Linked DNA regions of Homo sapiens: all the other regions are linked to region 3. The links are contacts of gene promoters, found by promoter capture Hi-C in human tissues and cell types (Jung and others, 2019). All regions are on one chromosome and are shown on one strand. Each heading gives the region's core, a stretch centred on a gene start or on the middle of the fragment in contact. The rest is flanking DNA. Distances are from core to core; before and after follow the strand shown.

Evidence for each region. Contacts are between HindIII fragments. The study calls those that stand out against the background at their distance.
Region 1: a fragment that was not itself captured here is called in contact with the fragment with the promoter of CARS2 in region 3 in 1 of the 25 tissues and cell types used here (IMR-90 fibroblasts).
Region 2: a fragment that was not itself captured here is called in contact with the fragment with the promoter of CARS2 in region 3 in 1 of the 25 tissues and cell types used here (bladder).
Region 4: a contact is called between a fragment that was not itself captured here and the fragment with the promoter of CARS2 in region 3, in 1 of the 25 tissues and cell types used here (spleen).
Region 5: a contact is called between a fragment that was not itself captured here and the fragment with the promoter of CARS2 in region 3, in 1 of the 25 tissues and cell types used here (heart left ventricle).
Region 6: a fragment that was not itself captured here is called in contact with the fragment with the promoter of CARS2 in region 3 in 1 of the 25 tissues and cell types used here (H1 embryonic stem cells).
Region 7: a fragment that was not itself captured here is called in contact with the fragment with the promoter of CARS2 in region 3 in 1 of the 25 tissues and cell types used here (dorsolateral prefrontal cortex).

Annotation. Positions count from the first base shown.
Region 1 is chr13:111,184,774-111,187,999 of GRCh38, reverse strand. The region is part of intron 2 of ARHGEF7 (Rho guanine nucleotide exchange factor 7); the gene reads right to left. Among named protein-coding and RNA genes, the nearest start is that of ARHGEF7-AS1, 38 kb to the right of the region's middle. RefSeq lists enhancers at 2,771-3,030, 3,131-3,226. The HindIII fragment of the contact is 3,787 bases long and covers 1-3,226 here.
Region 2 is chr13:110,212,940-110,216,186 of GRCh38, reverse strand. COL4A1 (collagen type IV alpha 1 chain) reads left to right here. Exons shown (of 52, transcript NM_001845.6): 3 at 2,172-2,261; 4 at 2,361-2,405. Among named protein-coding and RNA genes, the nearest start is that of LINC03082, 85 kb to the right of the region's middle. The HindIII fragment of the contact is 5,934 bases long and covers 1-3,247 here.
Region 3 is chr13:110,704,247-110,707,447 of GRCh38, reverse strand. It overlaps CARS2 (cysteinyl-tRNA synthetase 2, mitochondrial), which reads left to right and starts at 1,332. Exons shown (of 15, transcript NM_024537.4): 1 at 1,332-1,578; 2 at 1,877-1,927. The coding sequence starts at 1,355. RefSeq lists enhancers at 405-524, 535-914 and a silencer at 965-1,524. The HindIII fragment of the contact is 14,015 bases long and covers 1-3,201 here.
Region 4 is chr13:111,155,152-111,158,593 of GRCh38, reverse strand. All of the region lies in intron 2 of ARHGEF7 (Rho guanine nucleotide exchange factor 7), which reads right to left. Among named protein-coding and RNA genes, the nearest start is that of ARHGEF7-AS1, 8.3 kb to the right of the region's middle. The HindIII fragment of the contact is 3,840 bases long and covers 273-3,442 here.
Region 5 is chr13:111,070,144-111,073,544 of GRCh38, reverse strand. No RefSeq gene overlaps it. Among named protein-coding and RNA genes, the nearest start is that of LINC00368, 24 kb to the left of the region's middle. The HindIII fragment of the contact is 8,666 bases long and covers 1-3,401 here.
Region 6 is chr13:110,244,306-110,247,410 of GRCh38, reverse strand. The region is part of intron 1 of COL4A1 (collagen type IV alpha 1 chain); the gene reads left to right. Among named protein-coding and RNA genes, the nearest start is that of COL4A1, 61 kb to the left of the region's middle. The HindIII fragment of the contact is 4,468 bases long and covers 1-3,105 here.
Region 7 is chr13:111,206,711-111,209,852 of GRCh38, reverse strand. All of the region lies in intron 3 of ARHGEF7 (Rho guanine nucleotide exchange factor 7), which reads right to left. Among named protein-coding and RNA genes, the nearest start is that of ARHGEF7-AS1, 60 kb to the right of the region's middle. RefSeq lists an enhancer at 2,988-3,142. The HindIII fragment of the contact is 3,516 bases long and covers 1-3,140 here.

The DNA of each region.
Region 1 (3,226 bases), core at 448-2,947, 480 kb before region 3:
TGTACTCAAGGAAAAGAGAACAAGGCTCCAACTACAGAAGGGATGAGCATCCAAAAACGGGAAGACATTGCTTGAAAATCACCAGCAGATCCACCCACTCTCAGAGTGCTAGGTTTTTCTCTTCCAGCTGAGTGACCACACCTTCACACTGGATGTCAGATGTCACAGCCACTCTGCCTAGCGGACAAAAGTTGACAAAGAAACGGGTCACAGAAGGACACTCCAATGTTTGGGATTCGAAAGGCTCCCCTACTGATACCCCGATATTAGTGACTTTGCCTCACCCCACTTCCAAATTCATAGGAAGTGTAGAAATTCAGGAATATCTTCCACAGAATAAAAACAGCAAAGCAAACTACATCACAAAATAGATCGTGTGATATGTCTAATATATAACACAATGTACATTATGAAAATACTTCATATAATAAAGATCCTGTGTCAGAACCTTTCCACTACAAGCAAGTAAACCCAACTCAAATTGGCTTAAACAAAAAAAGGAAATTATTGGTTCGCACAACAAACAAGTCAGGAATGGCAAGAGCCACAAGCTCAGAACCGGAAGGCTTTCTCCGCTCTCTTTCCTACTCTCCTGAGTGTGCGCCACAGTTTCAGGAACGGTCTCCCTCATCAGGCAACAGGACCACTGGCAGCCCCAGGCCCACACCACCAGGTCAACACCTCAGATGCATCTCGCTGGACCCAGAGCCCACCACGTGAACCAATTTCACAGCCAGTGAAGCAGAACAAGGAGAGCTGTCCAAGGAGCCAACAATAACGGACACAGCATTCTGGCAAACCCACACATAAACATGTATTAATAATTTAGAGCACAAAAATTCAGACAGTCCCCCAGAGCTAAGGGACACCACTGTAGCACTAGGGCCACACAAATGCACGCAAAAGGACACACTGACCAGCTCTATTCCAGCCCAACTGCTTTCACACCACCCTCCCAATACCCACACCAACAAGCACAGCAACCTTAATCAACCCCGTCAGTACTGACACGAGAGCAAAAGAATGCCTCCTGCCTCCATGGTAGCGCTGGCTGATGCACCTCTACGTAGTAGACCCCAAAAAGACCAGACCGGGAAATGGGGAAAGAAGTAGTCGTCTTTTTGCTTCTCCTCACTTTCCACCATCTCAATACTGACGGAGAGGCCTCTGCAATGTGGGACTGAGCGCACACTTTCTGGGCTCACTGAAGCTTTAGTGGTCTGCGTTGCCACCAGTCAGCTCGCCTCCTCCAGGAACTTGAGAAAGTTATTCTTGACACAAGAAATTGTTATTTTTAGCACAGCTCTGGAGTGTGGTTTGCAAAGTTTAAAAATATAATTTTGTCCTATCACTGTCAAATGGAACTTGTGATTTCAGAACAAGAGTAAAAAATGAATCTTAAATAAGTGGTGCTATTTAAGTTTAATGCAAATGGTCCATATTGTTGGGGACATGTGAAAAACAGAAATCCAGCAGTACGTTTTCACTTCCTGGCTTCTGCAGATTTTGTACTTAATCCCACCCACTCCTACACCCCAGGGGTAAAATTAAAGTCTGATGACGGATGCTATCAATTACGGCACTTTCACCCAACATGCACCCAAATGATTTATTTCACTTTAAAATGAAAATCAAATCTTATTCAATTTTGTGGATTCCACTGTATCAACACCCAAACACTAGGACAGAGAATACATCTTCAAAAAAGAAGTAACCAAGTATTTTAGGTAGTTTCCAGGAAGGGGTGAGAGGAGCAGAGCAGGGAGGCAGGAGCACAGCAACGGGAAGGCAGGCAGGGCTCTTCCCAACAAGATGCTCTCTGCCTTCTGCAGACCGGGCGCAACCTCCACACGAGGCAGGGAAGCGCAGCCCCAACAGGCAGGGGAAAGGAAGGACACCTCCCTGCTTAGGACCACGGCATGCTGTGCTGGCCCACACAGCCCGTACCTCAGTGTAGACTGCATGCCAGTTTATCTTACAGGCAGAAAACGAAAACACACACACACACACACACACACACACACACACACACACACACGAGCTCCCAAAAGACAGTGTGACAAAGCTTACAAAGGCAGAACCAAGATCGGAGCCCACCAGCCTGGCTTTGCCCACACCACCACACTGCCAGCCAGGAAAGGACACCAGAGACAGTGGTGTCCCACAGCGGTCATGCAGGCAGATCAGGCAGCACCCAGGGGAGGAGGGGTGGTCTCAGACACAACTCACCACGTACACACACACAGCAGCCCATACAGCCTACACAGGCCCCCAAACTTCTGTCTTCGACTGCTAGGAGCACATGCCTGCAAAGAACAGCCTGGCTGTCGCCAGAAAGTGAGCACATACCACAAAGAAGGATCTGGGCAGATGCAACACACTGGCTTGGGCTAACAGTAAGTGAAGCAGTAACATTTACAGCTATAAAGGCAATGCGCCCATTCCATTAACTTCAAAATGCAAGCAGTTACAAGACTCCAGTTTTGAGAAGTTTCTCAAGATGGCCCACTGCAAACACCTATCTAACTCCCATCCCTCCCAAGGTGCCACCGAAATGAGAGAAAGAAAAAGCTTCAAAAAATTAACAGAGAAAGAACCCGCTGTAGTGCTAAAAAGGGAAAGGCTATGAGCAGTCTAAACAGGGTTTGAGGAGATCCCTGGGGACAGGACGCAGATGGACTCTGAATGACCTAACAGTTCAGAACAGCACTTGTAAGGGAGCCCCAGGAGCACCAAAGACGGTTTTCTAACACAGGAAGGGACACGTGACCCACCTCAGGACTTCAGCACGACAGCCCCTTCTTCCTGATGGGAAGCTCAGCACCCAGACCCCTCTCTAATTAAAAAGAAGCTGCTGCCTGCACTGGATTCTAACCGGAGGTGAAGTGACCCTCTCTAATTAAAGAGAAGCCTGCGGCCTGCACTGGATTCTAACCGGAACCTGATGCACCACTAGGCCCACACAACAGTCTCTGAGGAAAAAAAAAAATGACAATTCTACCCAGAAGCGAAATCCCCTGGGAGCTCCACCACCAGCCTGGACTATCCCCCATCTGAAGTGTGACACAGGAAACAGGTGCAGAGAAAGTGTCTCCCTCAGCTCTGCTCGTGTAGCTGCTTCTAGAGCCCTCCATCCGGTTCTCCCCACCTGCTCCCAGACACACAACCCGCACAGTGAAGCCCACGGGGCCGGTAACCCACACACAGGACTGCACAGTCCCCTCCG
Region 2 (3,247 bases), core at 632-3,131, 490 kb after region 3:
AGCCAGCCTTCCCTGTCAAACCTTGGGATCAGGGCCCTCGTGGAGTCACGTCTGTGCTTCTGGCCGACTCCCTGGATGCTGCTGGCCTGAAGGGGCAGTGCCACAGTATGGGGCTTGAGGTTCTTTAATCCATTTACTGTTTGATTCAATTCTTTAGGGTTTGAAACAATCTCTCCCATATTTATCCACATACTGTGTCTAGACTCCTGACATATCCTTTCAACGAAACACAGCTCTATGGAGGTGTGGCGGCTGAGTCCCAGGTTCATAACGTCCTTCCTGCGTTTGTAAAAATGGAGCAGGCAGTTAATTCACCAGTTAAGTGCCAGGACTGGCTGAGTGGTTTGGAAAGAAGGACGACTTTGGATGTTTATGTTATGTGGTGTGTAGCTTGTCGGTTGATTTTTACTTTCAACTAATGCAACTTTGAGAAAGGCACTGAACACTAAGTAATCCTGCCTGTGATCTCCAAACTGTCTGCCTTATGTTTTTAAATCAGCTAACAATGGTTACTGAATCTACCCAATTCGTATGGTAAGGCTGCACTGAAGTCCACATGCTGTAAAGTAAATAGGTTTTCTTGATTTCTTACAATGGTTATGGGTTGTTGTTTTTTTTTTTTTTTTGAGACAGAGTCTCACTCTGTCTCCCAGGCTAGAGTGCAGTGGCATGATCTTGGCTCTCTGCAACCTCTGCCTCCCAGGTTCAAGTGACTCTCCAGCCTCAGCCTCCTGAGTAACTGAGATTACAGGCGTGCACCACTACACCCAACTAATTTTTGCATTTTTTAGTAGAGAAAGAGTTTTGCCATGTTGGCCAGGCTGGTCTCGAACTCCTGACCTCTGGTGATCTGCCCGCCTCTATCTCCCAAAGTGCTGGGATTACAGGCATGAGCGAGCCACCGCACCCAGCCCAAAAAATACTCTTGAAAGACATTTCTCATTAAAGCCCACCATCACCCCATGATGGCCCAAGGGAGGCTAAGCATCTTGCATGAGGTGCACACTGTGGACTCTGCCCACCCACATCTCCTAATGGTCTCTAAAGAGGAAGACGTCTTGGAGGCTCCATCACAGAATCTCAGCACTGAGGCTGTTGCTAACAAGAGAGTTCCATTGATTGAGCGAAATTATAACCAGTTCAGTGAAAAACACCTCGCTATTTGTTACTCTATTTACCCAAGAAATTATTTGGCATTAAGTACATATAAAGGATTGTGCTAGGAATGAGATATAAATATTTCCTGCCCTCAAGAGTTTAAAACACAGTAGAGCAAAACCACCTGAAGTAGTCGTTGCTATCTGTTTCCAGACACTCACTGTGGACTTGCGCAAGGCTGGATGCTGCTTAGATTTATTATGGGAAGTGGCTCATAGGATTATAGAGGCTGAGGAGTTCCATGATCTGCCGCCTGCAAGCCTGGGAACTCAGGACTCCTGAAGTGTAACTGGGTCCAAGGCCAGCGGCTGGAGAGCCCAAGGGGCTAGTGGTACAAGTCCCTGAATCTGAAGGCCAGAGAACCCAGAGTTCTGATGTCCAAGGGCAGGAGAAGATGGGTGCCCAGCTCCAGAAGAGAGAGAATTGGCCTCTCTTCTGCCTTTTTGTTCTATCCGGGCCTCAACTAACAATGACACCTGCTCACCCTGGGTGAGGGCAGATCTTCCTTACTGTCCATGTATTCAAATGCCCATCTCTTCCAGAAACACACCCTCAAAAACACATCCAGAAGTCATGCTTTACCAGCTCTCTGATTATCCTGTGACCCAGTCAACTTGGCACCTAAAATTAGGCATCACGGGCCAGGCGTGGTAGCCCATGCCTGTAATCCCAGCACTTTTGGTGGCCGAGGTGGGTGGATCACCTGAGATCAGAAGTTCGAGACCAGCCTGGCCAACATGGTGAAACCCTGCCTCTACTAAAAATACAAAAATTAGCCAGCGTGGTGGCGCACGCCTGTAATCCCAGCTACCCGGGAGGCTGAGGCAGGAGAATCCCTTGACTCAGGCAGTGGACTTTGCAGTGAGCCGAGATCGTGCATGCACTCCAGCCTGGGCAACAGAATGAGACTCCATCTCAAAAAAAATATATATATAGCCATCACAGTTGGTCACCAATTCCTTCCTCTGTTCTTTACTGCTGCCTTTTGCCTGACTGATGTTCCTCTTCTGTAGGGTGAAAGAGGCCTCCCGGGGTTACAAGGTGTCATTGGGTTTCCTGGAATGCAAGGACCTGAGGGGCCACAGGGACCACCAGGACAAAAGGTAAGCACGGCTGTGGGATTGGGGGTGGGTGGATGTAAGATTGCCCGCATTCTTGAGATAGCGGTGATCAATGACAATGGCATTTCTATTCTGTTCCAGGGTGATACTGGAGAACCAGGACTACCTGGAACAAAAGGGACAAGAGTGAGTACAGTTGCTACTCACAATCGATGATTCCATGCGTGGGACAGGCCCGCTTCCAGAGCCGGGCACCTTTTCCCTCCTTTCTCCTTGCCCTCGTCCTCCATCTCCTCTCCCAGCTCACACAGCACGGGCAGGCAGGCGCGAGGCAGGCAGTGAGGAGCAGCCCGTGACTCCCTGAGCCCCAGTCCTTCCCATGGGGACTGTGCACAGGCTGAGCTCCTTAGTCCTTGGTTCTGCAAACTTGCTTTCCCCCATTTGTTCTTCTTCAGGAATCTCTTCTGGGCATTTTTTAATTTGGGGGAAGGGGCAATTGATGATGTGTCCACAGTCATTAGACAGAGATGACTTCATTTAATGGAAAAGTCATGGTATTTTCAGAGCCAGCCTTGCTCTTCCTCCTCTCCACCTCTTAGTAATGATGAAATGGGAGCAGAGTTATTTTGTGCATGGGCAGCCTTATGTTTGAAGGGATCAGCAGTCAGCTTTTAAAAACTTATTTTTTTGTTTTTTTTTATTTCAATTTTTTTTGGTACAGGTGGTGTTTGGTTGCATGTATAAGTTCTTTCGTGGTGATTTCTGAGATTTTAGTGCACCTGTCACCCAAGCAGTGTACGCTCTACCTGTTACGTAGTTTTTGATCCCTCACCTCCTTCCAGCCTTCCCCCCACCTGAGTCCCGAAGTCCATTGTATCACTCTTATGCCTTTACATCCTCATAGCTTAGACGCCACTTATACGTGAGAACATACGGTATTTGGTTTCCCATTCCTGGGTTACTTCACTTAGAATAATGGCCTCTAGCTCCATTCAAGTTGCTGCAAAAGACATCATTTTGTTCCTTGT
Region 3 (3,201 bases), core at 83-2,582:
CTCGAACTCCTGACCTCAGGTGATCCATCCGCCTCAGCCTCCCAAAGTGCTGGGATTACAGGTGTGAGCCACTGCGCCTGGCCCAATAGAGGCACGTTTGTCAAGCTATTGTGAGTAACTTTCAGAATGTTTTTGTTCTCAAGATACGGGATCATGGTGGGGGAGGCATGCTGTGTATTGGAGTGCAGACATGGTGTGTGTTGGGTTGCACACTGTGTATTGGGGTGCACACTGTATTGGGGTGTAGATGTGTGGGGGCGCACACTCTATTGAGGTGCACATTGCATTGGAATGCAGACAGTGTTTGCTGGGATGCACATGTGCTGTGTTGGGGTGCACACTGTACTGGGGTGCAGACATGGTGTGTGTTAGAGTGCACAGTGTATTAGGGGTGCACACTGTATTGGGGTGTACACTGTACTGGGGTGCAGACATGGTGTGTGCTGGGGTGCACACTGTATTGGAGTGCACACTGTATTGGGATGCTGATGTGGTGTGTGCTAGGGTGCATACTGTGTATTGGGGTGCAGACTGTATGCTGGGTTGCACACTGTGTATCGGGGTGCACTGTGTTGGGATGCTGATGGTGTGCTGCAGTGCACACTATTGGGGTGCAGATGTGTGTGCTGGGGTGCACACTGTATTGGGGTGCACACTGTATTGGGATGCTGATGTGTGTGCTGGGGTGCATACTGTGTATTGGGGTGCACACTTCTTGGGGTGCAGACTGTGTGTTGGGTTGCACATTGTGTATCGGGGTGCACTGTGTTGGGATGCTAACGGTGTGCTGCAGTGCACACTGTATTGGGGCGCAGATGTGTGTTTGGGGTGCACACTGTATTGGGGTGCACACTGTATTGGGGTGCTGACGTGTGTTCTGGGGTGGACACTGTGTATTAGCGTGCTGACGTGGGCTGTGCTGGGATGCACACGTGCTTCGCTAACAGGCCAGGGCCCGGCAACAGAAGCTTGCACTGTAAACGCTCCTCCCGCGCGGCGGACACAGCTCCAGGCTGGTACCGCGCGCACACGGACGCCTCGCAGGACCTGGGCTAATAAGGAGAGGAGATCGGCACGGTACCGCCTCTTCCCACGGCCTCCCGGCGCGGCACCGCCCTCCTCCCTCCACCCCGGGCCTTCCCCGCCCCAACCTCTTCGGGCCCTGGTTCTCCACCCTTGCCGCGGGCGACTCGAGCCAGGCCAAAGGGAGGCGCTACCTGAGGACTGCTTCCGGGAGTGGGCGTGGCCCCAAGGGCGTGGGCGGGGCGGGGCGGGGCCGTGCTGCTCTTGAGCGACCGGCAGCGTACCCGGCGTGGCTCCCGTCTCCGCCCAGTCGTAGGCGCTGGCCGCTGACATGTTGAGGACTACGCGCGGCCCAGGCCTGGGCCCCCCGCTGCTCCAGGCCGCGCTGGGCCTTGGGCGGGCTGGGTGGCACTGGCCTGCGGGCCGGGCGGCGAGCGGGGGGCGCGGGCGGGCCTGGCTGCAGCCCACGGGCCGGGAGACGGGTGTGCAGGTGTACAACAGCCTCACCGGGAGGAAGGAACCCCTAATCGTGGCGCACGCCGAAGCCGCCTCCTGGTGGGCCGCGCGGGACTGGGGCACGGGCGGGGGCCGATCGTGGCGGAGACTTCCCACGGCTGAACGGGATCTGGGCTCGGGGAGGGCGTTTAGGAAGCTGCATGGAGGGCGCCGTTCTAGAAGCTGGGGGTGCGCGGTGCTTTTGCAGGTTTGGGTGTGAATTGAGCAAGTATGAAAACCCCGGCTATTCATCCCCCAGAAGTGATTACTTTAAAAATTATATGATCATTATAACTCAGAATCGAATGTCCTTTCTTGCAAATATGTTCCACACGATGGATTTTAACTTTGTTTCCAGGTATAGCTGTGGACCAACTGTATATGATCATGCGCACCTTGGCCATGCTTGGTGAGTTTCCTGGATTTGAATTTTCATACTTCAAAGGACCATTTATTTTTGAAAGCCTTTTGCTGATTTCTTTTATCTCTTAAGTGGCAACTTAGGGATGCAGAATAATTCCTACATTCCAGGCATTGTGGGAAATGTTACAACCTCATTTGGTTCTTATAGGGATTCTGAGCACTTACACCCGTTTTACAGGTGAGGAAACTCAGGGAGACAATGGAGCACTGAAAAATGACCCGTTTTGGAACTAGATGTTTTTTGCTGGGTTTAGTGACATCAAGAGGCCTTTGCGGGGTCCCGGGGTCCTGCTGATCAGTCATTCCTGGGCCCCACCACTTCTTAGCTTCACAGCACTGAGCAGGTCACTTTATTGCTTTGAGTCCTGGTTTCTTCATCTTTGAGATGGGAATGATAACTTGGATCTTATAACAATTTTAGTAAATAATGCCCATAAAATGCTGCTTAACACTGTACCTCACATGTGAGATGTCACGGGGCTCAATAGTGATTGAGTAACTTTCCTAAGATGACACATTGAAGAGGTATTGGAACTGGGGTGAGGCTTGGTTTCTCTGACTGCGAAGTGGTTGCTCTCTTGACCTCTTTAACTGTAAGATGTACTGCCTCCTACATTTGCCAAAATTACCACTTTTCCTAATATTTTGTACATTTCCAAAATATAATGTACAAAAATGACATATTATAGATTTTTTAAAACTTAGTATTGTTCAGTCCTAGACTAAAAGTAAAAAGTTACATTTACTCTGTATACTTTTTTTTTTTCTTGAGACGGAGTCGCTCTGTCGCCCAGGCTGGAGTGCAGTGGTGCAATCTCGGCTCACTGCAACCTCTGCCTCCCAGGTCCAGTTGCCGCCTCCTGGCAGCAATTCTCCTGCCTCAGCCTCCGGAGTAGCTGGGATTACAGGCATGTACCACCACGCCCGGCTAATTTTTGTATTTTTAGTAGAGACGGAGTTTCACCATGTCAGCCAGGCTGGTCTCGAACTCCTGACCTCAAATGATCCACCTGCCTTGGCCTCCCAAAGTGTTGGGATTACAGGCATGAACCACCATGCCCGGCATACTCTGTATACTTTAAATATACATTTTTCCCCTTTACTTTGGGCTAACATACTTTTAATTATCAAAAGCATATTTCGACATCTTTCTTGAATTATAAAATATGTTGGGGAAATATTAAAAACAAAACCCCCACCCTGGAAAACCTTTCCACAAAGGTAGAAGAGAAAGAAAACAGTTCTGTTACTGAATAAGCC
Region 4 (3,442 bases), core at 943-3,442, 450 kb before region 3:
TTTCTGTTCTGAACCACCTGGGCCTTTGGATGCTTTCCACTTTTCCAGAAAAACAGTTAAATAAATGAACAGCAACTGTGAAACCTGCAGATAATTTTAGTATTAGTTGCAGTGCCAAGGAGCTGGAAAGATCAATTATTAATATATTAGGGTTACCATCCCTATCATATCAAACATAACTATTCCAGAAATGGTCTATGACAAGAAAGAGCTGTGGTTTCCTTACACTTGACAAATTGGCTTTATTCCCTCTTGGCAACTATGAGAACAGGCTCACCCAGTTTCATCTGAAATGTTTTGTTTTCCTTTCAAGTAGTGATGGTAACACTGTATGTGAGCCCACAGTCAATTCTTAAGCAAAAAAGCCTCATTAATATCAAACTATCCATCAAGATTACCCTTTTCTATTATGTATGAATATAGCTAAGTATCAAGAACAGTAGACATCTTTCTTTCAAACAGAACTAAGTTAAAATCCATAGCTTTATTATAATAATTTTGTTGCTAATATTCCTGAAACCACGTTATTAATGTGAGCTTAATAATGTATCAATTAACTGGAATCTTATATCCTTAACTTTCAGCTCTTGAAATAAAAAACTGGTAAACATGTTACAGGCGTGATGGCTTTAACCAAACAAGCTTTCTCCTAGGAACATAAAATCTGCTTTTGCCAGTTACATTTCACCTGCTTCCCTAGTTGTCAGATGCCTAATCAGACAATGTTGCATAGGGTGGGAACATCTTGGAAGCTAATTCATTGTGACCTTTTCAGTGAACAAGCATGTGCACACACACACATGCACACATACACATCCTACAGTAGCTACAACACTTGAATCAGAATTCCACAGTAACATAGCAAAATACTGGAAACAGAAATCACTCTGAATTTCTCTGTAGCTGTTTACCTAAGAAAATGCAAAGAAATGTCCTATCACTTGCTTGGTTTGCCTCAGTAAGTTACTTATCCTCAAGTGAAATTCTACAAACATCATCATCATCATCATTTTTTTTTTCTTTTTTTGAGACGGAGTTTTGCTCTGTTGTCCAGGCTGGAGGGCAGTGGCGTGATTAGTAGAGATGGGGTTTCACCATGTTGGTCATGCTGGTCTCAAACTCCTGACCTAAGGTGATCTACCCGCCTCAGCCTCCCAAAGCGCTAGGATTACAGGCATGAGCCACTGCACCCAGCCAACATCATCATTATTCTTATTAATAATTATTATTTTGGTTGCTTTTGAGATACAAATAGAAATTGTGTGCCTAGGGGTTTTTTGCCCTAACTGGAAAAAAAAAAAAAATTTAAGCATGCCAAGTAAAAAAGTTATAAGAAAATGAAGTCATCCAAGTTGCACTGCTTTCCAACAGTAATTAAATTTTTTTAATTTTCCAAATTTCAAAGTTTTCCAGCTTAAAACCCAGTGCTTCTCAAAGTTTACCAATAAATGCGACTCACACAATATTCCTTTAAAACCAATTTATAAAAATATTTTCATAATCAAAACAATTGGGGGATAATATCTGATTTTCTACAGGTAATTAAGGAGGGCATGCACCAAAACAGCTGACATATTAACCAAGTTTACTTCCTTTTTCCCTTTAACAAATCTTAGCAGAGCTTAAACTGACAGTAAATAAGAATATATACACCAAAAACAATCTGTTACAAACACAATTCAGTCTAAACTAACCCCTGGAAGAAAAGCACCTTGACATTTACAACTATAGAACAAAAGCTAATCTAGAATTTAAGCTATTAGTTTTAAGTTTTGTGTCTGTAGTTTCAAAACATTTCTTATCAATTTCCCACCTTTCAGAATTTTGTGAAAATGAAATGTGTAAATCCCACAACATATTTCACAAGTGCAAGGCCCTTCCCTCCTGACTCCCTAAGCAATTCTTAAACACTGGGAAATTGCTGCACTGTGGCCCGCATGGGAGATGACCAAGTCCTTCAGGGCCCAGCCCTGTCCCTTCACATCACCTTACAAGGCTGGAAGCCAGAGCTGGATGCATAGCATACAAAATGACTTCTCAGGGTAACTTCCCAAAAAACACAATGACTGAACAATTTATCAGGTTTTTCATGTGCTGTTTTCATATTTTCATTTTTATTATCTCCTAGGTAATTACAAGTGTGACTCACACTAAGCTTGAAGAATGCTAACATTTGCCTCTTGCTTAAATTTACTGGAAGAGATATTTACTCTTTAAAAATAGCACAAAATAAGTCAAAACTAATTTTTTACTTTAAAATGAAACTCACTTGCTATCACTTACAACCTCAAGTTCATTCTATTAGTAACAAATATTTATTGAAAGCCTATTATGTGCCAAGCACTATTGTAGATGCTTGGAATATGTTAGTGAAAACTCTCTTCCAGAAAACCTTCAAATAAACTCTTAATTATAAAAACAATAGTTACTGTATGAAATGTCAGCAACCTTTGGAAAACTAAAAACGGTAAGTTTTTAACATTCAATTTACTTTTTTTTTTTTTTTTTTTTTTGAGGGAGTCTTGCTCTGTCACCCAGGCTGGAGTGCAGTGGCAATCTCAGCTCACTGCAACCTCTGCCTCCGGGGTTCAAGGGATTCTCCTGTCTCAGCCACCTGAGTAACTGGAACTACAGGTGCACGCCACCACGCCGGGCTAATTTTTGTTTTTGGGTTTGTTTAAGTATAGACAGGGTTTCACCATGTTGGCCAGGCTGGTCTCGAACTCCCGACCTCATGTGATCCACCCGCCTCGGCCTCCCAAAGTGCTGGGATTACAGGCGTGAGCCACCACACCCAGCCTCAATTTACTTTAAAACAAAACTTTTTTAAAAAGTTTTACACTAAAGTCAGATAATCTTAATGTGCCAATTGAGTTTCAAAAGTATGTTAACGTAAACAAAACTCAGTAGTTTCAAGAGGATAATATAATAAAATCCCTCACAAAGGTGAAGAAAAAGTAAAACCTGCCACTAGCAAGGCATATTATCACAGCCAATAAGGCAGCTGGATTACAAATGACAAAGCTGATACGACAAAGGGTATCAGGGAAAGACTACTGAAACACTGTCTTTTTCCCCTTTGAAAAGGCCCTAAGTTTCTTGGAATCTCCCCTAGCACTTTCACTTACGTGTAATAATTTCCTTGCCAACATGAAATACTACCAACAATAAATTTCTTTGTGTTTACAATCATAAACAACGCCAGTAATACTTTAATCTATGAATTCCTACATGTCTAATTCAATTAAATAAACTTTCCATGTAACCTGCCCTCACAGATTTGATGTTCTAGGTTTTCCGAGAAACCTATAGCAAAATATTCTTCGGGAAGGGAAACCTCTGTTGGGTTATCCTACATAACAGGTTCTACAAAGATGCTTTCATATACAGTTGTCCCTTTTTATCAGCAGGGAATTGGTTCCAGGATCCCGGTGGATACCAA
Region 5 (3,401 bases), core at 707-3,206, 370 kb before region 3:
GGCAAATAATCCTTTTATTTACCAAAGCCATAGAAATTTAGCCCAAAATAAGCCCGCATGTGCTGCTCCTATCACAATTCCTTTCTTCCTGTCTCAGAAGTAATCAGAATCCTGACTTGATAATTGATTGAAATAAACAAAGACAACTATGTGCAACAAAGTGGATAAACTTTATAAACATGTTGGCCAAAATAAGCAAGACATAATAAGTTCAATATGATTACATTTATATAAAATTAGGCAAGTTTCTTTAGGCAAAATTAAGCTATATTTTTTAGGAATGCATACACAGTAAGTTCTAAATATTCTTAAATTTTCATGATGATTGTTAATTCAACTCAAGAGTTCTTCTATATTGTGTTTCAGTTTCAAAATACATCTCTTTTTTTAAAAAATTCTAACTTAATTGAATTGTGGACAGAGAATGTGGTCTGTATGATATTAGTCATTGGAATTTGCTGAGACTTCCTTTATGGCCCAGTGGAGAATGGTTTTTTTTTTTTTTTTTTTTTTGAGACGGAGTCTCACTCTGTCAACTGGATGGAGTACAGTAGCACAATCTTGGCTCACTGCAACCTCCACCTCCTGGGTTCAAGTGATTCTCCTGCCTCAGCCTCCTGAATAACTGGGATTACAGGCACCTGCCACTATGCCTAGCTAATTTTTTTTTATTTTTAGTAGAGACGGGGTTTCACCATGTTGGCCAGGCTGGTTTCAAACTCCTGACCTCATGATTCACCTGCCTCAGCCTCCCAAAGTACTGGGATTACAGGCGTGAGCCACCACACTGCAGAATTGTTTTTTAAAATGTTCCACATGTGCTTGGAAGTGTGGCCCTCTTCACATCTCTAGGGTTTGCTTTGCTTCGAATTCTGGTTGCCCATTTCTCTGGGTCCCTGGCCTTCTTGCCTGATGCTCACTATCTTGAAAATGTTTCATATGTTTTGGTTTTTCCTTTTGGGTTTTTTTTCCTCATGGGATGGTTAATCTTGCTCTTGTTAGTTCATCTTGGTCAGAAGTTGAAGTCTCCTATTTGCCTTTCATTTTTGAAAGATTATTTTTGCTGAAATAGAATTCTAGCTTTAAAGGCATGTTGTTTTAAATACTTTAAAATGTCGCTGTATTATCTTCTGTCTTGGATGGTTTCTAATTCAAAGTTTGTGATTTTCTTTTTGTTCCTCTGTTTGCAGTGCCTGTTTTCTCTGTTTTTCCAGCAGCAGTTGTACTATGCTTGGTCTAGCCAGTGTTTATTATTGTTGTGGTTATTAGTATTATTAGCAGTGGTTGTCCTCCTGGGTGTTCTCTGGATTGTGGTTTGGTGTCTTCCATGAATTTTAAATATTCTTGGACATTAACTCTTCATGTTGTGGGAAGTCAGGGATCCCGAACAGAGGGACCGGCTGGAGCCATGGCAGAGGAACATAAATTGTGAAGATTTCATTTTAATATGGGCATTTATCAGTTCCCAAATAATACTTTTATAATTTCTTATACCTGTCTTTTAATCTCTTAATCCTGTTTTCTTCATAAGCTGAGGATGTATGTCACCTCAGAACCACTGTGATAATTGTGTTAACTGTACAAATTGATTGTAAAACATGTGTGTTTAAACAATATGAAATCAGTGCACGTTGAAAAAGAACAGAATAACAGTGATTTTTAGGGAACAAGGGAAGACAACCATAAGGTCTGACTGCCTGCGGGGTTGGGCAAAAAGAGCCATATTTTTCTTCTTGCAGAGAGCCTATAAACAGACATGCAAGTAGGGAAGATACCGCTAAATTCTTTTCCTCGCCAGGAATATTAATATTAATACCCTGGGAAAGGAATGCATTCCTGGGGGAGGTCTATAAACGGCCGCTCTGAGAGTGTCTGTCTTATGCAGTTGAGATAAGGACTGAAATACGCCCTGGTCTCCTGCAGTACCCTCAGGCTTATTAGGGTGGGGAAAAACTCCACCCTGGTAAATTTGTGGTCAGACTGGTTCTCTGCTCTTGAACCCTGTTTTCTGTTGTTTAAGATGTTTATCAAGACAATACGTGCACAGCTGAACATAGATCCTTATCAGTAGTTCTGTTTTGCCTTTTGTCCTGTTCCCTCAGAAGCATGTGATCTTTGTTCTGCTTTTTGCCCTTTGAAGCATGTGATCTTTGTACCTACTCTCTGTTTTACACCTCCTCCCCTTTTGAAACCCTAAATAAAAACTTGCTGGTCTGAGACTCAGGCAGGCATCACGGTCCTACCAACATGTGATGTCACCCCCTGGCGGCCCAGCTGTAAAATTCCTCTCTTTGTACTCTTTCTCTTTATTTCTCAGCCGGCTGACACTTATGGGAAATAAAAAGAACCTATGTTGAAATATGGGGAGCAGGTTCCCCCAATATCTTCAAATATTTCTTCTGCTGATTTTCTTTTCTTCTGGGATTCCAGTTACACATCTGTTAGCATGTCCGATAATTTCCCAAAGCTCTTACATGCTCTGGGTTTTTTGTGTGCTTGTTTTAAAAATCCCTGTTCCTGTTTGTGCCTTGCTTTTGGTCACTCCTATGGCCCTATCTTCATGTTTGCTGATTCTTTCTTTGCCTCTGCAGAATCTCCTGAATTCTTTGTTCACCTCTGCAGAACTCCCCATCTCTGCTATCACGCTTTTCAATTCTCACCTTGCCACCTCATCCTTCCTCACAGGCTCCAACACCTCTGGATCAAAGAGTGGGGTGTGGGGTGTCCTAGAGGTCAGAGGAGCCATCTTTTTGCCTTGGACCTTGCTGTACCACCCATTTCTAGGTGTAAAACTTGTGAAAAGCTCAGCCATGCTGGCATCGCTGGTCCCGACTTCTTTTGAAATAACTCTGAAAGCTACTTGAGAATGTACACAAGCCATGGCAAAGGAAAGGTCCCAGTGACACAAGGAGAATTTTTCACCACTGTGGAAGATAGTATAGCAGCTCCTGAAAAAATTAAACCTAGAATTATCATAGGATTCAGCAATTCTGCTGTTGGCTAAATGCCCAAGAAAACTGAAAGCAGACTCAAAAAGATCAGTACACCCATGTTCCTAGGAGCATTATTCAAAATAGCCAAGAGGTGGAAGCCACCCATGTCCACCAACAGAGGAATGAATAAACAAAATGTGGGCCCTTCATGTCATCCACCCCATGGATAACAATGGGGTGTTATCCATCCTCAACAAGCAAAGATGCTCTGACATGTGCCATAGCACAGATGAAACTTGAGGATGTTACGCTAAGTGAAATACACCAGCCACAAAAGGACAAATACTGTATGACTCCAGACAGATGAGGTCCATAGAGGACTCAAAGTCACAGAGACAGAAAGTAGAATGGGGGCTGCCAGGAGTTGGGGAGATGGGGGAGGGGGAGTCAGTGTTGAATGAGGACAGG
Region 6 (3,105 bases), core at 271-2,770, 460 kb after region 3:
ATATAAAAGATATTTGGTTTAGGGATTACTTTGTAGTACCTTTTGCATTCCTTTCATATTGTATTTTTTGTTTTCGTTTAAAGCTGATCTCTGCTATTGAAGTTATGTGTGCGTGTGTGTGTCTGACAGAGTCCACTGGGGACTATTATTATTATTTTCTTTTCTGTTTCAAACACAGTTAAGTCAGTTTGGCTTCCATTTGGAGACAACTTATTATACTCTGTAGGCCACATGGTCTATGGGGAAGAGGCTAAAAGGACTTTCAAAACTGACTTGGTTTTCATTAAGTTTGTCTACAGTTTTAGGAGTATAAATAATAAATTCACCCCCAACCCCAAGAGCTTTCTAGGGTCCTCTTTTTCCACATTGGTCTGGGGTACCTGTGTTGCTGTTGTCCATGGCTGGTCTGCTTTTATAAGAGAGACCGAGACCCCCGCCTTTCTTTCCTTTGAGAACTCCCAGCCATATTCCCCGTCTTCCAAGTGGAGACTGCCTTCGTGACCCACTTTCATCCTCATGACCACTCGGGTTAAGTGTGTGCCTCACAGGAGCACAACACAGGCATTGCTCCAGGAACTTGGAACTCATTGACCCTAGAACACCAATGAGGGGAAAACCAGGAAGAGGATGAGTACCGCACAGAATGTACCAGTTCTTCCCATTCTAGAATCTGAAACAGATGGTATGGGAGCTTATCTGTAGGGTCATCCAGACACCGGGAGAATGCAGAGCCCTCATAAAGGCCCTCAGATATGCAGCCAGCAGGGAGCCGGTGGAGTCCACCAGTCTGCATATAGCTTTAGATTTTTCTGGGAGTCCAGATGCAAGGTGTATTTCCTCAGGAAATGATGAAATGGTGACATAGCTTTTCACATGTCAGGTCACCAATGAAATTGTGAACCTGGGTAACCTGCATTATTTATGTACCCCTTTTAAACACAGTAATTTACAACAGTGAATTAAGACTTGCATTACCTGACTTTTATTTTAATTCACCATTTGAAGCTTATACATTACACCTGAGTGAAGGGGGTACTCAGGTCATCCTTTGTATTTTTTTTTTCTTTTTAGCAGTGAACCATTGAACTGCAGCTAAAATACCTTCATATGCCAGGGTGAAACCCAGCACGGGCCCTTATATGACAGAAAGGACCAGAATAGTGATATTTTAAAATAGATTTTATTTAACAAAGTAAACATACATCTTAGGATATTTGTTTGTCATTCTTGTCATTCTAAAGGCTAGCTTTTTTGTTTTTTTTTTTTAACAAAACCATTTACATAAAATGCTAGGCCACCCAGAATGTGACACAAAAATCATGATCTTAGACATCTTTTGTTCTGAAAAGCTAACCCTAATTTAGATATTTTTGGAATGATCAATTTTTTAGAATTGATAATCAAATTCCCTACACACATAAAGCCATGCATGTTTTTGGTCCAGGATTAAAAAAAATTACTTGCTTATGAAAAAGCGTAAGGTGGTGGGGGAAGGCCGGGGTCGGGGGTCAGTCCTGTCTCATCTCTGATTTTCCCCAGTGTTCCTTAGTACCTGAAGTGGTCCCCAGGGTAAAACTACCCACCCGCCTGTCACCGGCACCGGCTGGGGGTGTTTCTGTACCAAAAGCACAAGAAGCGTCTTGACCCGAGGGTCCACAGTCACAGCCTTGCAGCCTCTTATCTGCAGTCCCAGGCAATGGAAGCATTCACGGATGGCTTAAGGGCCCAGTTCCAGGAAATTCATTTTTATAACCTCCCTCAAATTGCAGAAAGATAAAGCTTCTGAGATTTTATCAACCTTTCAGAAAACTCCAGATCACCAAATAGCCATTTTCAGCTTCAATCCCTTAAATCCCTGCTTAATCTGCTCTTTCCCAGAAAGCAGCAATTGACTCACAAGTCGAAAATCCACACTACTTCAGGCTGGTGTTGAGTTTCTGCCAGCTAAGCCCAGATGACTGCTGGACATTTCCTAAATGGACTCTGCAGATACATGAGACTTAGCCTGGTGGGTTTTCCTTTTGGTATCTGTAGGAGGGGGATGAAACACTGCAGAGTTTAAAGAACAGAGATGTGTTTCCAAACTTGGCTCAAACGCAAACAGGTTGTGGGCAGTGGCATAATCCCAGCAAAGAGGCTGCCCCGAAACTCCAGGGACTTGGAGATGACCTGGTGATGGAATAGCTGGTCTGGACGGCTCCAGGTGTCAGGTGCCAGATGCCAGCGCACTCCCCAGAGTCCCCGGCTCTTCCCTGGCTACTCTGTGATCTGGAGCAGTCAGGTAATCATTGCCGAGTTCCCTGTTTGGAGCTTTGTCCCACAGTGCTGTTGTGCACGAATGCACTGTGGTTGAGGTGCGCGGTGCCACTGGATTTCCATCTACAGTTGTTACTTAAGGTTGCTTAGATGGGTAACACCAGTAACAGCACCAAGAATACAACCATAATTGGGTACTGATTTCATCAATTCTAAGATGTGCATTTATTGATGTTTTAACAACTCTGGAATTGGGATAGATCTAACAATTGATAATGTGTCATTGTTTAATTAGTACCCTTCTTGATTTCTTAGTATGGGTTTTACAATTGGTGTCGTCTTAGATGAAGTACAGCTCACATCAGGCTCAATGCTACGGGAGCCTGGTGTGAGCTGTATGTGAGGCTGCCTCCAAAGCACTCAGGGTGTACCGGGGAGACACAGAAGTAAACAACGAGAAACGTGATAAGCCTGACAATAGAGACATGCAGTCAGCAATTCGCAGGAGCCAGGTAGGGAGCAGGTGACCCTCACCTGGGGATTAGACACATGGTAGTACTGGCTGAGTTAGGTACCTCTGGTGAGGTCTCTCAGTACTGGTATTTGTCCATTTTGGAAGAACCTCCTGGAGCACAGGTTACAGATTTTGGCCTCATCTCTTTGGATGCCTCTGAGTGGTCACCAAAACCCAGATTATGAAGCAAATCTGTGCACATGGATTGATTTAAAATGTTAGGAGGTTATGAGAGTGTAGGCTGAAAATTGCCTAAAATGTGAGTCAGAGAAAAACACAGACCTATCATCTCTGGAGTTTTTTTGGACTGTTGTCAGCTGTCCCCATTTCCAAAA
Region 7 (3,142 bases), core at 133-2,632, 500 kb before region 3:
AGAAAAAGAGAGCTGAGAGCGCCTGATACCACGCACCCACACTACACACTAGACTTTAAAACTAGGGCAGCACAGAGGGACACACCAAAAGACCACAACAAAGCAGCCCATTTATGCAGAAAACAAAGAACAAATTATTTGCTACATAAATGACTTGCATTCATTCCCCAACTACCTTTCCAGAAATTATCTGGAGATAACTATTAATCAGTTCTTCTCTAATATAATTTTCAAAAGTTTGTGAAATGTATTATAACTTTTAAAGATTTTCCCTTCACCTGGAAAAAAAAGCCTCTCAAATTTGATTATGGAGCGGAGAACAACCAAGTACTGATTCTCCAAAGCATCACCACCACATGCCCACTTTTCCAGGACGATGTGTCATGCAATAAGCAACAGAAGGAAAAGACTCTTATTTAAAAGAGAAAATCCAGTGTATTTTTCAGCCAGAGAGAACCTTGTGAGGATTATTTCCCCAACACTAAGGCAGCACAGGCTCTACTCACCTCATGAAGTTGCTGACAGAATCAAAGTAAACAGACAGTAAGAGGCTTAGTTCTGTTCTCTGGATCTCCCTTCATAAGACACTCCACACAGGCCATCCAACAAATAAATAATAGCAATTTATTCTTAAAAGTGACTCAATTAAAAAAAAGAGAGAATGAGGCTGTGAAAAACTTTGCTGGGAAAATCGCTGTTCTGAGAGGCACGTGCCCGGCCATGTCCTAAACTCCAGGGAGGCTTCCATGAAAGCAACCCTAAGTCTCCAGGTCCCAGCTTCCTCCCAGGTGTTTGGATTGGCTTGCACGTATCTTATAAAATTCTGAATTAAACGGTCAACATCGAAAAGTCTGAAGGTATCACCAAAAACCCAGATTCCCCACTGCTCTTGACACATTTAGGATGTGGCCACACCAGGTCTATATCCCATCAGGTAAAGCTGGCTCAGAGCTGGGCAGGGGCTGTCCTGAGAGGACCCAGCACCCATGCCCTTCCATCCAGCTCCTCCCTTCACGCCACCTGCCTGACCCCACAGATGGGGGCTTGCTACTCCAACGATCTTAAATTCTTCTCAGGTCACCCCCTCACCCTACACTTCCCAGGACCTGCTGAGGGCAGGTTACGAGTAATCTCTATAGAGCACATTCTGCTTGAGAACACAGGGGTCTCAGGCAACCCGCAGCACAAAACCAGCTAAAAGGGCATTTCCAGCAAATTCTACAGGGCTCCCGGCCATGGTCTGCAGTGCTCTGCTGGCCACAGCCTTCCAGGAAATTCTCATACAAGGAGGGCCATCCTGAAGACATTCTGTACTTCCCCATCACCAAGCTTTCTTCTATCCAATTAAAAGGCCAGTTACAGTCAACTAAATGCCTTGAGAACACATATGATTTTAAGAGACAGAAGCAGAAAGACAATGACAATTTTCCCAAGAATGTCCACAGTAACTGTGGCTGCTGCAGTTGTCTTACTGTTTGCCAATCAAGGAAAGCTGAAATCTAGAAAGAAACGAGGCCAGGCGCAGTGGCTCATGCCTGTAATCCTAACACTTAGGGAGGCAGAGGCTGGTGGATCACCTGAGGCTGGGAGTTCCAGACCAGCCTGACCAACATGGAGAAACCCCGCCTCTACTAAAAATACAAAATTAGCCGGGTGTGGTGCCACGTGTCTGTAATCCCAGCTACTCGGGAGGCCGAGGCAGGAGAATCGCTTGAATCCAGGAGGCGGAGGTTGCGGTGAGCCAAGATCATGCCATTGCACTCCAGCCTGGGCAACAAGAACGAAACTCTGTCTCAAAAAGAAAACGTACGGGTATTGCCTTCCCACTGACTTCAAAAACAAAAACAAAGGGCAAACAGAAAAGCAAAGCATTCCTTCCATCTAGGAGGGGTCATTCCTATAGTTTAAAAGCTTAAAAGTACCAAGTTTATGTGGTAACTTCCAAATTTGTCTTTGTAAAGAACAAAGCTATCTATTTTACATCCAACACATAGCCAATGATACCAAGAACATATACAAAATACATTTCCATAAGGTAGAGGTAAAAACTAATAGCCTGAGAGCTACTGGATTCTGACTTCTCTTATTTACTTGTAAATCCTACCGTCTCAAACCTAGATGGTTGACAATCCCAAGACTGAGTGTACAAATTAAAGCCATGTTCTAAAGCCACTTCGTCCTAATTAGCACCCCCACTTACAGCAAAAGCAGAGAAAACATCTACAATGAAATTCAAAGTTACTATCTTCTGCTCCTGTGAGCAACCTCTAAAAAAGTATTCAATGGGAGCAGAGTCAAATTAAGGATTACTTGTAGATTTTACATATCTGTGCTATTGCCCCATCTGCCACAGAGATCTACGTTAATTATAAGGCACATCATTTAGGACAGGCATGGTGGCATAAGCCTGTAATCTCAGCACTTCGGGAGGCCAAGGCAGGCAGATAGCTTGAGCTCAGGAGTTTAAGACAAGCCTGGGCAGCACAGCGAAACCCCATCTCTACAAATATGCAAAAATTAGCCAGGCACAGAGGCACACACCTGCAGACCCAGCTGCTGAGGAGGCCGAGGTGGGAGGACTGCCTGAGCCCAGGAGGCTGAGGCTTCAGTGAGCTGAGATCACACCACTGTGTTCCAGCGTGGACGACAGAGCAAGACCCTGCCTCCATAAAAAATAATTCAAAACTCTGAGGCATGGATGAATATGAGTTTGCAGGCAGATTCCCCCATGTGGTCAGGACACATGAATATGCCACTTCTGTACATCACCTGTTGCAGTATTTCTTGTATTAAATTCCAGTGATCCACTCTAAATGTATGTCCTTTTCAATGTCATCCATAACTTTAGATAAGTGATTTTCTTTTTTTTTCTTTTTCTTTTTTTTTTTTTTTAGATGGAGTCTCGCTCTGTCGCCCAGGCTGGAGTGCAGTGGCGCGATCTCGGCTCACTGCAAGCTCCGCCTCCCGGGTTCACGCCATTCTCCTGCCTCAGCCTCCCGAGTAGCTGGGACTACAGGTGCCCGCCACCACGCCTGGCTAATTTTTTTGTATTTTTAGTTGAGACGGGGTTTCACCGTGTTAGCCAGGATGGTCTCGATCTCCTGACCTCGTGATCCGCCCGCCTCGGCCTCCCAAAGTGCTG